Linked DNA regions of Homo sapiens: region 1 is linked to region 2. Evidence: promoter capture Hi-C in 16 types of primary human blood cells and fetal thymus (Javierre and others, 2016). All regions are on one chromosome and are shown on one strand. The core of a region is centred on a gene start or on the middle of the fragment in contact, and the rest is flanking DNA. Distances in the headings are between cores, read along the strand shown.

Region 1 (7,343 bases), core at 3,452-5,951, 2.0 Mb before region 2:
ATGTGACCTGGAAGGACTTGGTACATGCCAATTAAAGGGACAGGCAACCCCCGTGGACCGACATAAACACGGGGGTGTGGCGAACGGCTCCGGCCGCGGGCAGCAGGGGGCGCGCCCAAGGCTCAGCGCGGCGGGGCCCAGCTGGGGCAGGATCAAAGGGCTCGGGGAATTTTTCTCCATCCGTCCCACAGACTTGCATTGAGAAAGCTAACCTACCTGTAAAACAGCTAGGAACGAATGGCCTTGGCAAATAGGGTGTGAGATTTATGTGCCATGATAATTCAGGTGGTGTAAAGGAGGTACTCCTATCTTTTAATGTAATTTTTTTTTAATTTAAATTCGGGGGGTATGTGTGCCGGTTTATTACATGGATATACTGCATGGTGCTAAGGTTTGGGTTTCTAATGATCCCGTTGCCCAAGTAGTGAACATAGTACCCCACAGGTAATTTTTCAACCCCTTTCCCCTGCCTCCTTCCCCGTTTTTGGAATCCGTAGCATTTATTGTTCCCACCTTTATGTCCACGAGTACCCAGTGTTTAGCTGTCACTCATAAGTGGGAACATGAGTGGTTGGTTTTCTGTTTCTGTGTTAATTCACTTAGGATAATGATGTCCAGCTGCATCCATGTTGCTGCAAAGGACATGATTTTGTTCTTTTTTATGGCTGCATAGTATTCCATGGTGTATATGGACCACATTTTCTTTATCCTATCCACCACTGATGGGCATCTGGGTTGATTCCATGCCTTTGCTGTTGTGACTAGGCAATCCTATTAATTAATTTACAGCAATATTACTGAACAATTACTGTATATTCTGACACTTGTGTCTCCCAATTAGTAATTTTTTTTTTTTTTTTTGCCTTAGGACCTCTTTATACTCCTGGAAATTACTGAGGACTCCAAAGAACTTTTGTTTATGTGGGTTATTTATCGATATTTGCTGTATTAGAAATTAAAGCAGAATTTTTAAAATGTATTTATTAATTCATTTAAAATAATATAAAACTCCATTCCATGGTAATAAAAATCACACTTTAAAAATAACTATATTTTCTAAGACAAAAATAAATTGAGAAGATTGTCATCATTTTACATTTTCACTGATCTCTTTAATATCAGGCTTAATGGAAGGTTACATTCTCATGTCTACTTCTGCATTCAGTCTCTCCAAATACACTGTTTAGTTGCCTAGTTGTAGGTATGAAAAACCCCAGCCTCATACAAATCATGTAGTTGGGAAAGGGAGGCCCTCATGGATCCCTGAAAAGGTCTCAGGGACCCCCGAGGTTCATGGGCCACAGCTTGAGAACTGCCCCTGACAAGCCTCCTCCTTTCTCAAAGTCCCAATTTCCTCTTTGGTTAAATGAGGGGAATGAGACCTTATAGCACCCTGTGCCCTCCCCACCGAACCACCTAGCCCGCCACGGGCATCGCCTGTTCTCCTGCCTATTCTGGGCTCTCCAGGCCCTTAGTATTGGGACTTTCCAGTGTGTAGCTCATATGTGCTCAAAAAAGTATTTGTTGAATAAAGATGTTTTTCCAGGGTTAAATCTTAGCACCGGGTCTGGCACATAGGAGATGCTCCATCAGTGATATCTGTTTATTCCAGAGCTCAATGTAAAAGCACTGCAAGAAACAAATGGTGGAGAGGGAGACAGAAATAAAGGGCAAAATTGTCACAAATGGTACCAAGTGCATGAAGGAGATAAATGAGGTGCTGAGGCAGAGCACAGAGGGGAGGGGTGGGGGCCAGCTCTGGAGCTGGCCTCTAAGCTAAGAGAAAATGGGAGGCCTCAGCATGGGGAGAGGAGACGAAAGTGGACCCCAGGGGTGGAGGGCTGAGAGGGAAAGAGCCTGGTGAGACATGGTAGAAAGGACAGAGCAGCATGGAGCGAGGCTGGGGTGCAAGGCAGGGGCCAGATCTGGGCATGTTTTAGAACTTGGTGAGGCCAAACTGGGGGAGGGAGAGAGAGAAAGAGAGAAAGAATTCTGACTTTTTCAAAGCTTTATTGAGAAATGGCTGAGTTGAAAGCTGAGGAACAGCGGAGCAGGAATTTTGAGGAAATGTAATTGTATGGTGGGGACCGAAAGTAGCATAGGGGCTTTGAGAGAGAGAAGCACTTCAATCCTCAGGTGCATAGATCTTAGGACCAGAAGGGACCTAAACTCTCACCTACGTTAACCTTTGCCTTTTGCTGAAGTATAATAATAATGAGAGTTCATATGGTTTGGCTGTGTTCCCACCCAAATCTCCTCTTGAATGGTAGCTCCCATAATTTCCATGTGTTGTGGGAGGGACCTGGTGGGAGATAATTGAATCATGGGGGCGGTTTCCTCTATTCTGTTCTCATGGTAGTGAATAAGTCTCATGAGATCCGATGGTTTTATAAGGGGTTTCCCCTTTCTCTCGTCTCATTCTCTCCTGTCGGCCACCACGTAAGATGCGCCTTTTGCCTTCCACCATGATGGTGAGGCCTCCCCAGCCACGTGGAACTGTGAGTCCATCAAATCTCTTTTTCTTTATAAATTACCCAGTCTTGGGTATGTCTTTATCAGCAATGTGAAAACGGACTAATGCAATAGTAACAGTAACATACAAAACTGACAGGGTACATACTATGTGGCCTGCACCTTGCTAAATGTTTTAATCCTCACCATACCACACAATATTGTTATCGATCATTTTACAGGAGAGGAAATAGAGTTTCAGGAGGACAAAGCTACTTGGCCAAGGCTCCAGCAGCCAGGAAGTACCAGAGCCTGGGTTCGAACTCTTGGTGAACCTGGCTCCAGAGACCACTCTCCTAAGCACCAGGCTTTACCCATCACCACAAGTCATGTATAAAGTCAGATGTGTCCCCGAGTGGGCAGCTCATAGTGGACATTGCAGCTCCTGTCACCTGACTTGCATGAGTAAAGTGTTTAAGACTCAATAAAGGGCTTACTGGAGCCAGACTGCCTGCGTTCAAATCATACCTGCACCACTTTCTAATTTTGATGTTAGACAAGTTACTTTCATGGCAAAAATAATAATGTGTCTCTAATAGGCTTGTTGCAAAGAGTAGAAGAGATAATACGTGCAAATAAAATGCATTGTAAGCTCTCAGGAAATGTTAGCTATGATTACTTTCTCAGTTCAGCCCAGTTGCGTCTGAAATTCCACTGCCCAAGTTATGATCTTTCAAATCTCCTCTTCAAGAACTCCCCTGGCTTGGTATTACTGCTAACTACCCCCATGGCCATGATTAGTGCTGCCTTTTGAGACTGTAGCATCCATTTCAGATGTGTAGAAATTGGAAAGCATCCTGGGGGAGAAGAATGACAATGGTTAGAAGCCATCCCAGCCGGAATCTTTAAAGCAGACCCCAAGGCAAAGGCCTAGATACTGCTTCTTCATTAAGGAGTACAATCCCAGGGCAGCCAGAGCGAGGAAAAAGCGGAATGAAGCAGGTCAGGGAAGGCAGCAGAGCCCATACCAGGAGGCCTCACCAAGCCGACCTTTGCTTGGTATCAAGCACGACTGGTTGCTCCCTCTCTGGGGACTGTCCTGTAAGAGGCTGTGTTAACCAGAACACAGGAGAGTTCAGCTGGGGAGAACTCTTATTTGCCAGTTCCTGCCTCCCATTCAAAGGCTGGCCCCACGGGGACCTCACTCCCAGACACTTCCAGGTTGCTCATTGAGGCTCCCATAATTTTTCTCACCTCAGCCTTCCACAGGGAAGCCCCCAGGTGGAGGAACAAGGTGTGAGGCTGTAAGCACGAGCCAACTGGACGGAGAGGCAGCCCTGCAAGTCTGCACACCATGGCCGGTGTGGAGCTGGTCACTGTGGGAGCTGCTGGGGTGGAGCAGGTGGCCAATGGCAGGTGAGAACAAAGACAGGTTAAACCAAGAGGCTTTAACATGACACATCCTTAGGTGCTGTCTAACACTGAGGCCCATAAAATCAGCCAAGAAGTTCAGGTTATAACATACTGAAGAGTCAGTGAATTAAATTCTTTTAGGACTTTAAAATTACATTGGACAAACCACAGAATGAGAGAAAATATTTGCAAACTAAATATTTAGTTTAATATTTAATTAAGAAATAAGGCAAGAAAAAAGGGATTAACAGCCAGAGTATATGAGGAGCACAAACAACTCAATAGGAAAAAAACTAATAGTCCAGTTTAAAAATGGGCAAAAGATCTGAATAGACATTCTTCTAAAGCAGGCATACAAATGGCAAATGGAGATATGAAAAGGTGCTCGACATCACTGAACATCAGAGAAATGCAAATCCAAACTCCAATGAGATATCAGCTCATCCCAGCTAAAAATTGCTTTTTCCAAAAGACAGACAATAACAAATGCCAGAGAGGATGTGGAGAAAAGGGAACCCTCATACGCTGTTGGTGGGAATGTAAATTAGTACAACCACTGCAAAGAACAGTAGAGAGCTTCCTCAAAAAACTAAAAATAGAGCTACCACATAATCCAGCAATTGCACTGCTAGGTATATAACCCCCAATAAGGAAATCAGTATATCGAAGAGATGTCTGCATTCCCATGTTTATTGCAGCGCTATTCACAATAGCCAAGATTCAGAAACAACCTAAGTGTCCATCAACAGACGAATGGATAAAGAGTTGGTGGGAGTGTAAATTAGTTCAACCATTATGGAAGAAAGTGTGGTGATTCCTGAAGGATCTAGAACCAGAAATACCATTTGACCCAGCAATCCCATTACTGGGTATATACTCAAAGGATTATAAATCATTCTACTATAAAGACACATGCACAGATATGTTTATTGCAGCACAATTTACAATAGCAAAGACTTGGAACCAACCCAAATGCCCATCAATGATAGACTGGATAAAGAAAATGTGGCACATACACACCATGAAATACTATGCAGCCATAAAAAAGAATGAGATCATGTCCTTTGCAGGGACATGGATTAAACTGGAAGCCATAATTCTCAGCAAAGTAACACAGGAACAGAAAACAAAATGCCACACATTCTCACTCGTAAGTGGGAGTTGAACAATGAGAACACATGGACACAGAGAGGGGAACATCACACACCAGGGCCTGTCAGGGGTAGGGGGCAAGGGGAGGGATAGCATTAGAACAAATACCTAATGCATGCAGGGCTTAAAACCTAGATGAAGGTTGATGGGTGCAGCAAACCACCATGGCACATATACCTATGTAACAAACCTGCACGTTCTGCACATGTATCCCAGAACTTAAAGTAAAATGAAAATACAAAAGAAAATGTGGCACCTATACACAACGGAGTACTATTCAGCCATAAAAAAAAGAAAGAATGAGAGCCTGTCATTTGCTATAACATGGATAAAACTGGAAGACATTATGTTAGGTGAAATAAGCTAGGCACAAAAAGACAGATGTTGCGTGTTCTCACTGATTTGTGGGAGCTAAAAGCCTTAAAACAACTGAACCCATGGAAATGGAGAGTAGGATGGTTACCAGAGGCTGAAAAGGGTACTAGGGGACGGGGAAGTGGGAATGGTTAATGGGTATAAAAATTAGTCATCTAGAATGAATGAGATCTAATATTTGATAGCACAACAGGGTGACTACAGTCAACAATAATTTATTGTACATTTTAAAATAACTAAAAGAGTGTAACCGAGTTGTTTGTAACACAAAGGATAAATGCCTGAGGTGATGGATGCACTATTTACCCTGATGTGATTTTTTTTTTTTTTTTTGAGACAGAGTTTTGCTCTTGTTGCTCAGGCTGGAGTGCAATGGCGTGATCTTGGCTCACCACAACCTCCACCTCCCGGGTTCAAGGGATTCTCCTGCCTCAGCCTCCCGAGTAGTTGAGATTACAGGCTTGCGCCACCACACCCAGTGAATTTTGTATTTTTAGTAGAGGCGGGGTTTTGCCATGTTGGTCAGGCTGGTCTCAAACTCCAACCTCAGCTGATCCATCTGCCTTGGCCTCCCAAAGTGCTGGGATTACAGGTGTGAGCCACGGTACCCGGCCCCTGATGTGATTATTACACATTGTATGCCCATATCAAAATATCTCAGGTACCCCATAAATATTTATGCCTACTGTGTACCCACAACATTAAAAATAAATACATAAATGTAAATAACAATAATAAAATAAAATCAGATTGGTCCAAATGCTAATACATGTGCTGCCAAGAAACCCTGAGAAGCCTGCCTCATGCAGGGCCCACTTATTCATCACCATGCTTCCTTAATGTCCAAGTGCCTGGTTAGCTAGTCACTGAGCTGAGAAATTGCACCAGGAGACAGGGGCTCCAGAGACAGAAGGGCTAGGGGGCACTGTCTCCTCTAACAGGTGATATGGAGGTAGGGGCTGGATCCCTTTGGCTGGGCTCAAAGAAGCCATGGCTCCAATCGGATGCTCTATGAGGCTTTGGCTGCTCCATCATTATCATGAGATGGTGCACGCTTCTCCATGCATTAGTTCCCCACACAGACCATACAAAAGCAGAGAGAAAAGGCACTGGGCAGAGAGTCTGCGGGCACAGGGCAGTGTCATTGAATCTGGACAGAGGACAGTGGCGGCTCCTGGCAGTCTTGGTGCTGACTCAGCTCCCTCTGATGCCCCTATCTTCCCCTTGCTTTAGAGGTTTTCCTTCTCATTCTATTTCTCATCATTCTTGTCCCTCTCCTCTCCCCAGACCTTGCTATCCTTTGAGCTAATCTCTCTCCTAGCAGAAAAACTCGTTCTGCAAGTCCGCATGGTACAGGGACTTTCAAGTCTGCTGAGCATCTTCTCATTTCCTGATGTGGAGCATTTCCGACCTTTGTTTCTGGTCCTTTCTCCAGCTGGGGACTGTCCCTGGCTCTCCGGGGAGAAGCATGGGGTACAAGTGGAAGCATGTGGATCCTGCAGGTCAGGGAGGAGAATCAACAATGACCATTTGGAAAGACTTTCCCTTATGCCAGGTTGAAAACTGGCCTCCCACTGACTGGATCCAGGCTATGTTTTCTTTGACCCATATGGTATTTTTCTTTAGTGGAACCAATATTTGAGATTTTTAGTTTTGCTTGAGCTGGTACAATCAGCATCCTGGTGACATTGCACCTGTGTTTCTGCCTGATGGGCAGCTGCTGGTGCTGCTTTGGCCTGGCACATTCGGCCAGCAGGCTCTCTCCTGGGCCTGGCAGACCCCCCCACTCACAGAGCGCACACAGGTACATGTAGGGCACCTGCCCATCCATGTGCTCACCTGTGAGGCCCTCCAGGTATATGAACTTGTAACTCCCAGCCTTCTGTTTTAACATACCTAAATGAGAGCATTTATGCGTGTGTTTGTTTGAAATTTCTACCATGCTAGGTGCT
Region 2 (7,240 bases), core at 1,297-3,796:
TATCATGAAGGTGATGTCGCAGAGTCGCAGGGAGAGTGAATACTTTAGGTAAGACATAGGAAAGGTCTCTCTGGGAAGGCGACATTTCATTTGATGCTGGATGACCTAAAATAGCCAGTCCTGCAAAGACCAGGAAAGCAATCCAGGCAGAGGGAGGAGCAACAACAGCAAGGAGCCTGGTGGAGCTGCCTGGGCAATGCAGGGTGAGAGTGGTGTGATCTGCAGTGGGACTGGCAGGCCACAGCCAGTTACATCTAGCTCATTCCTGCCCCAGGGTTTTTGCTCCCACCAGTTCCTCAGGCTGGAATTGCTCCCCCCTCATCCTCACATGGCTGCATCCTCCCCGGCTCCTTGTTCAGATATTACCTGCTCGGAAAGGCCTGCTATGACCAGTTCTACAGCCACTATTACAGCCCCATTTTATGGTCTTTGGAGCCCTTATCACTAGCAAAATGTTGAGAACACATGGACACAGGAGGGGAACATCACACACCAGGGCCTGTCAGGGGGTGGGGGGCAACGGGAGGGAGAGCATTAGGACAAATGCCTAATGCATGTGGGGCTTAAAACCTAGGTGATGGGTTGATAGGTGCAGCAAACCACCATGGCACATGTATACTTATGTAACAAACCTGCACGTTCTGCACATGTATCCCAGAACTTAAGGTTAAAAAAAAAAAAGGAAGTTTTATATATATTTTTTATATATATAAATATATAATATATAATATATAATATTTTATATATAATATATATTGTATATATTTATATATAATATATATATACATAAATATAAATATATATTAAATATATTAAATATTATATATTAAATATATATATATTTACAGTACTGATTTGATTATTTCATGTTGACTGCCTCCCTGGTCTACCTCCAGCAGCTAGCCCAGTGCCTGGCACTTCACAAACACTTGAGAATAAACAGCTGCTGCAGGCAGAAACCAAGCCTTAGAGGCAGCAGCAGGGAAAATCCCATTCATTATACAAGCCATATTTACTAAGCCTACTATGTGTCAGGCACCAGCCAAGTCACTGGACTACATCAGTGAAGCAAAGAGATTTTTTTAATCCCCATTTTTACAGGGACTTACTGAAAATAAGGGGGAGGAGAACACAGATAATATACAACTAAATTATATCTAAGCAGATATACTCGAGATACATAATATGTTCCATCTAACACCTTTTAAGGACAAAGCAGGCCAGGCATGGTGGCTTACACCTGTAACCCCAGCACTTTGGGAGGCTGATGGAGGATCGCTTGAGGCCAGGAATTCGAGACCAGCCTGGGCAACATCTCTACAAAAATAAAAATTAAAAAGTGAGCCAGGGTGGTGGCCCACGCCTGTAGGGGGGATTGCTTGAGCCCAGGAGTTGGAGGCTGCAATGAGCTAGGATCCGACCACTCTTCCAGCCTGAGAGACAGAGAAAGACCCCCTCTCTAAAAAAAGAAAGGGAGAAAGAGAGAGAGGCAGAGAGAGAGAAAGAAAGAAAAGAAAAGAAAAGAAAAGAAAAGAAAAGAAAAGAAAAGAAAAGAAAAGAAAAGAAAAGAAAAAGAAAAAGAAAAAAACAGGAAGGAGACAGGGAGTGGTTGGGGGAGGAGGAGGGGGCTGCAATATTAGAATGATTAGATTAGGCCAAGCATGGCCTCCCTGAGTGTGAATTTGAATGCTGACCTTCAGAAGCAGGACAGACTCTATGGGCAAATCCCTCGAGGCTGGGAGAGGTCTGAGGCTTGGGAGGGTCGGCAGAGAGACAATAGGGCTGACGCAGGAGCCCGGGGGAGACAGTAGTAGTAAGACATGAGGGACAGAGCAGAGAGGTCACTGTCCTCAGAGTGTGGACGCCGACCAACACTAGGGGCATCACCTGGGAACTTAGAAATGCTCGTTCTCACGCCTCGCCCCAGACCTACTGAAGCAGAAACGCTAGGGTGGGCCCAACAGCGTGTGTTCTAACAAGCCTTTCAGGCGACTGCGATGCACGATAAAGTTGGCAGCTCCTGGAGCAGGGGTCCCTCCGCGCTACGACCCCACCTCTTCGCGGTCCTCTCAGTCTCCCTAGCGGGGCAAGGGACCCGCCCAGCGCTTTGCTGATTTGCCCAGCGCTCACGCCCAACCTGGGTTTCTCCGGAGCTCGCCGCGCCCCGCGCACCCACCCCGCAACGGCAGCCGCACGTGGGTCTCCCCGCAAACCACCCAGGCGTCCCGGGAGCAGCGCTGCTGCACGGCCGCGCTGGGGGCCCAACGCCTGGGGTTGCAGGTGCAAAAGGCGCCCCGAGCCGGGGAGGCCAATCGCGTCCGCGGAGAACGCAGAGTGCGGGCAGGGGCGCATCCCTCGCCACCCGCGGTCGCCCAGCACGCCGGGACGCGCGTGGCCATCCAGCTCCCCGGGGGCGTTGGGGGGCTCCGCGGGCCTGGGCCTCGGGATTCGCCCGCCGCTTCCCCGGGGAGCCGCTGCTGCAAAGCCAGGTTGGGGCGCCGGGCCCGGCCAGCGCCCTCTAGGCAGCGGAAGTGCAGCTTGCTTTACATCCGTCCTCCCCGCCTCGCAGAGTTGGGAGAAGGCAGGGTGGGGGGTGTGGAAAAATAAAAGGAAAAGTCCTTGCACCATGTAGATCAGCGTCCCCCACTTTGGCATCCCGGCCGGCCGGGGACCTCCCAGTCTGCGGCCATGAACGCGAGCAGCGAGGGCGAGAGCTTCGCGGGCTCGGTGCAAAGTAAGTGCTTTTCCGGGAGCAGTGCGCGCTCCGGGGCCCAGTGCGCGCTCCGGGGCCCGGGCCCAAGCACGTCTGCGACGCAGCCAGCAGGCCCGGGGCCCCGAAATCGGGGTGACGGCTCGGAGCCGCGTCTCGGGGACCGCGGCGGGCGCGCTGTGCAGGGGGCGCCGGAGTGGGCTTGGGGTGGGGGCGCACCCGACCTGGCGCAAGACCGGGGGCGCTCTCCAGCCTTGCGAGACCCCTTGGAAGGGAACAGTGGGGGAGGGCACGCCGTTCAGACAATCGCCACCCCCTAAGGGCATTCCCGCCCCATCAGGCGGAGTTTGGGGCGGGCAGGAGAAAGGGAGGAATCTAGGGTAAACGGGGCAACACTGATGGGAAAACTTCTGCCTCAGTGGCTCAAAATTAGAGCCTGGAGATTGGGGGAATCACCAGGTCTCACGAGGTCCTGCCGGCTCATTGCAAAGCCTTTTCCTCATTAAGGGTGGAGATCTGAATGGAAAACGGGGCCGTGGTCGCTTTATTTGGGTTTGGGGTTCAGTTTTTATTTAACCGAGGAGGACATCAGCGTTTTTCAAGTCCCTGGTTTCTCCCGGTGCATTGTTTCCCAAAGTGTGGTCCAGAGACTGAGTGCAACCAGCCACCTGGGAGCGAGAGCGTGTATTTTAAAACAGCTTTCTGGGCCCCACCCATTCAATCTCGGGGGTGGGGCTGGGGATCCGCTGTCCTTCGTAGCTGCCTGGGCAACTCTGAAGCACATGAAGTTTGAGAACCCATCTACCAGGGGTTTGCAGAAAATCTGGCACATAGTAAGCTCCCAGCTTGTTAGCTGCTACTGTTAACAGTTTGGGAGACACTGGGTCCCAAACTTGGCGGTGTATTCCTTGCATTACTGTGAAAAGCACAGATTTTCCTAAACACCATCCTCCCCACCCCACCCTGTTATGACTCAGTATCTCCTAGGTGGGGCTCAGATATGTCCATGTTTAAATAGTGTACCTCAGTAAGAACCCAGCAGGTAACATGCTGGGGGACTGGCGGGGAGGGGGGACTGTGCTGGTACGAGCACCATCCCATTTAATTCTCATAACAAGCCCGTGTTTTTTCTTGGAGAAATTAAAAACAAACAAAAACCATGGATTAGAAACCTCTCCTCCCATTTTTCAGATGAGAAAACCCACGCTTAAAGTCACTGTTGTTAAGCGACAGTGTCAAGATTCTAACGAAGGTCTATGTCGTTACTTTTGCACTTTCCACATACCAGTGACATTATCTGTTATGAAAATCCTTTCATTCTGGGTGTCAGTCCTATTCCATCATTAAGGAATCGTCAGCAATGCAAGCTACTTCATGTCTCACTTCCTTGTTTCCTTGTTAGTTCCATGGGTATCTCAGTATCTGCCAGAGAAGAAAAGGTTTCCTTCCTTCCATCCATTGATTGCAAAGTGCTTAAGTGTATCCCTGCAAGATGGCTTATCACAGTGCTCAGCCCAGTCTCCTTAGCAAGTCAACCAAACTGTATTTCTGAACAGAGATTTCTTGTCTTAGCTAGACCTGGGGAAAATTGGACATAATGTAAATATCTTACAAATTTTCAGAAAATTATGAGGCATAATTTTATCTAACCATATATGCACAAAGGTAGTCTTGTATCATTTAACTTGGGAAAAATTGGAAATTATGTAAATACCTTATTGTTGCTGAGAAGATTATGACGCATGGACACCATGGAATAATGTATTGCCATTAAATAATCATATATATATGAAGAGATTTTAATGATATAGCACAATGTTTATGCAATGTTTAGGAAAAAGGGCCAGGCACGGTGGCTCACGCCTGTAATCCTAGCACTTTGGGAGGCTGAGGCGGGCGGATCACATGAGGTCGGGAGTTCAAGACCAGCCTGACCAACATGAAGAAACCCCATTTCTACTAAAAATTCAAAATTAGCCTGGCGTGGTGGTGGCGCTTGTAATCCCAGATACTCCGGAGGCTGAGGCAGGAGAATCGCTTGAACCTAGGAGGCGGAGGTTGCAGTGAGCTGAGATCGTGCCCTTGCACTCCAGCCTGGGCAACAAGAGCAAAACTCCATCTCAAAAAAAAAAAGGAAAAAAATTAGGAAAAGGATTAGTTTTACAATACTATGATCTGAATATTTACAATATTATGATCTTATGCAATTTTTTTTTTTTTTGAGATGAAGTCTCGCTGTCACCAGGCTGGAAGTTCAGTGGCATGATCTTGGCTCACTGCAACCTCCACGTCCCAGGTTCAAGCAATTCTCCTGCCTCAGCCTTCTGAGTAGCTGGGATTACTGGCACGTGCCACCACACCCAGCTAATTTTTGTATTTTTAGTAGAGACGGGGTTTCACCATGTTCGCCAGGATAGTCTTGATCTCTTGTTGTGATCCACCCATCTCGGCTTCCCAAAGTGCTGGGTTACAGGCGTGAGCCATCTTACGCAACTTTTAAGTGTAAAGAAAATGAATGGAAAAAAATATTTTATAATATTCATGGTAGGCAGAGATGGAAATATTGAGTGATTTTCCCCTTCTTTATAAGTTTCTTCTAAATTTTCTTATAAACACGAGTTATCTTTTTTTTTTTATGTGAGACGGAGTCTCGCTCTGTCGCCCAGGCTGGAGTGCAGTGGCACAATCTCAGCTCACTGCAACCTGCGCCTTCCGGGTTCAAGCAATTCTCTTGCCTCAGCCTCTCTAGTAGCTGGGATTACAGGTGTGTGCCACCACGCCGGGCTAATTTTTTTTGTTTATTTTTAGTAGAGATGGGGTTTCACCATGTTAGCCAGGATGGTCTCGCTCTCCTGACCTCATGATCTACCCGCTATGTCTTTATTGAACAAGTATTTATATAGTAGCTTCTAATACAGTGCCAAATACTACACTAAGTGCTTTCCAGGTATTAATATAGTATTAATTCTTGATATGATTAGTATCAAGAAATAATGTCGGCCGGGTGCGGTGGCTCACTCCTGTAATCCCAGGGAGGGATTTGGGAGGCTGAGGCGGGCAGATCACGAGGTCAGGAGATCGAGACCATCCTGGCTAACAGGTGAGACCTCATCTCTACTAAAAATACAAAAAATTAGTCGAGCGTAGTGGCGGGTGCCTGTAGTCCCAGCTACTTGGGAGGCTGGGGCAGGAGAATGGCGTGAACCCGGGAGGCAGAGCTTGCAGTGAGCCGAGATCGCACCACTGCACTCCAACCTGGGTGACAGAGCAAGACTCTGTCTCAAAAAAAAAAAAAAAAAAAAAAAAGAAAGAAAAAGAAATAATGTCCCTGCCAGTTAGGAATGAATTTTGGCTACAAGTAGCAGAAACCCAAATTATACTGGCCTAATGAAATCTGGAATTGATTGATTGCAGTGTTGAATCAGGGAAATCAGTGAAGTAAAGGGCAGAGCCCATAGGGATCTTGGCATTTTTCTCATAGTTACAAGATGGCTGCAGAAGCCCCACCATCACATTTGCATCCAAAGCCAGAAGAAAAGGGGCACATTGCTAGCCACATCTGCTCCCTTTTCATCACAAATGCCAAACTTTTCCCAGAAACTCCTCCAGCTGTGTGCTGGAGAAGTTCACAAGTATGTAGAGGACCAAGATTATTTAGACTATTGGTTCTCATAGTATGTGTTTTGGGTGAGTATGTTTGGAAATGTGCGGGAGGATCAGTTTTCACAATTACCTTTTAGTTGGGATAGGAGGTGGCTGCTGGTTCTGCAAAGTGCAGGACATCCCTTTTATCTTTGATAAAAGAACTTTCTTGCAAACAATGCCACTAGTGCCCCATGGGTAACAATGCAGCGTGAACCATCACATGGATGGTTGCTATACATTATTTCCAATTTTCCCCAAGTTAAATAATACAAGACTACCTTTGTGCATATGTGGTTGGATAAAATTATGCATCATAATTTTCTGAAAAAAAAAATTATTTTTTTTTTGAGACAGAGTTTCACTCTTGTCCCCCAGGCTGGAGTGCAATGGTGTGATCTCAGCTCACTGCAACCTCTGCCTGCTGGGTTCAAGTGATTCTCCTGCCTCAGCCTCCTGAGTAGCTAGGATTATAGGCACACACCACCATGCCCAGCTAATTTTTGTATTTTTAGTAGAGACGGGATTTCACCATGTTGGCCAGGCTGGTCTCGAACTCCTGACCTCAGGTGATCCGCCCGCCTCAGCCTCCCAAAGTGCCAGGATTACAGGCATGAGCCACCGCGCCTGGCCAATTTTCTGAAGATTTCTAAGATATTTACATTATGTCCAATTTTCCCCAAGTTTAACTAAGGCAAGAAATCTCTGTGTGGAAATATGATACCTTGCTGCTAGGGCACAATTAGGATGCAGTTCGCAGGAAGAGGAAGGTGGAGTGGATACTGGGCCACTACCCAGCCATGTCTGCCACCATGCCTTTTCTTCCTACCATGAATCTGGTCTGCATTACAATTCAAAGCTGTTTGGAATTAATCCGTTACTTTCCCT

The links. Contacts are between HindIII fragments. The CHiCAGO score rates a contact against its expected background, and 5 or more counts as called.
Region 1: a contact is called between a fragment that was not itself captured here and the fragment with the promoter of ZFP64 in region 2, in 1 of 17 cell types (naive B cells). The highest score is 5.3, in naive B cells.

The regions. Positions count from the first base shown.
Region 1 is chr20:54,200,582-54,207,924 of GRCh38, reverse strand. LOC124904937 (a long non-coding RNA gene) reads left to right here. Exons shown (of 2, transcript XR_007067669.1): 2 at 869-979. Among named protein-coding and RNA genes, the nearest start is that of PFDN4, 3.8 kb to the left of the region's middle. RefSeq lists enhancers at 1-83, 1-441, 2,289-2,518. The HindIII fragment of the contact is 5,383 bases long and covers 2,010-7,343 here.
Region 2 is chr20:52,187,085-52,194,324 of GRCh38, reverse strand. ZFP64 (ZFP64 zinc finger protein) reads left to right here and starts at 2,546. Exons shown (of 6, transcript NM_018197.3): 1 at 2,546-2,734. The coding sequence starts at 2,689. RefSeq lists enhancers at 1,665-1,794, 2,835-3,691 and silencers at 2,205-2,474, 2,835-3,074. The HindIII fragment of the contact is 28,170 bases long and covers 1-7,240 here.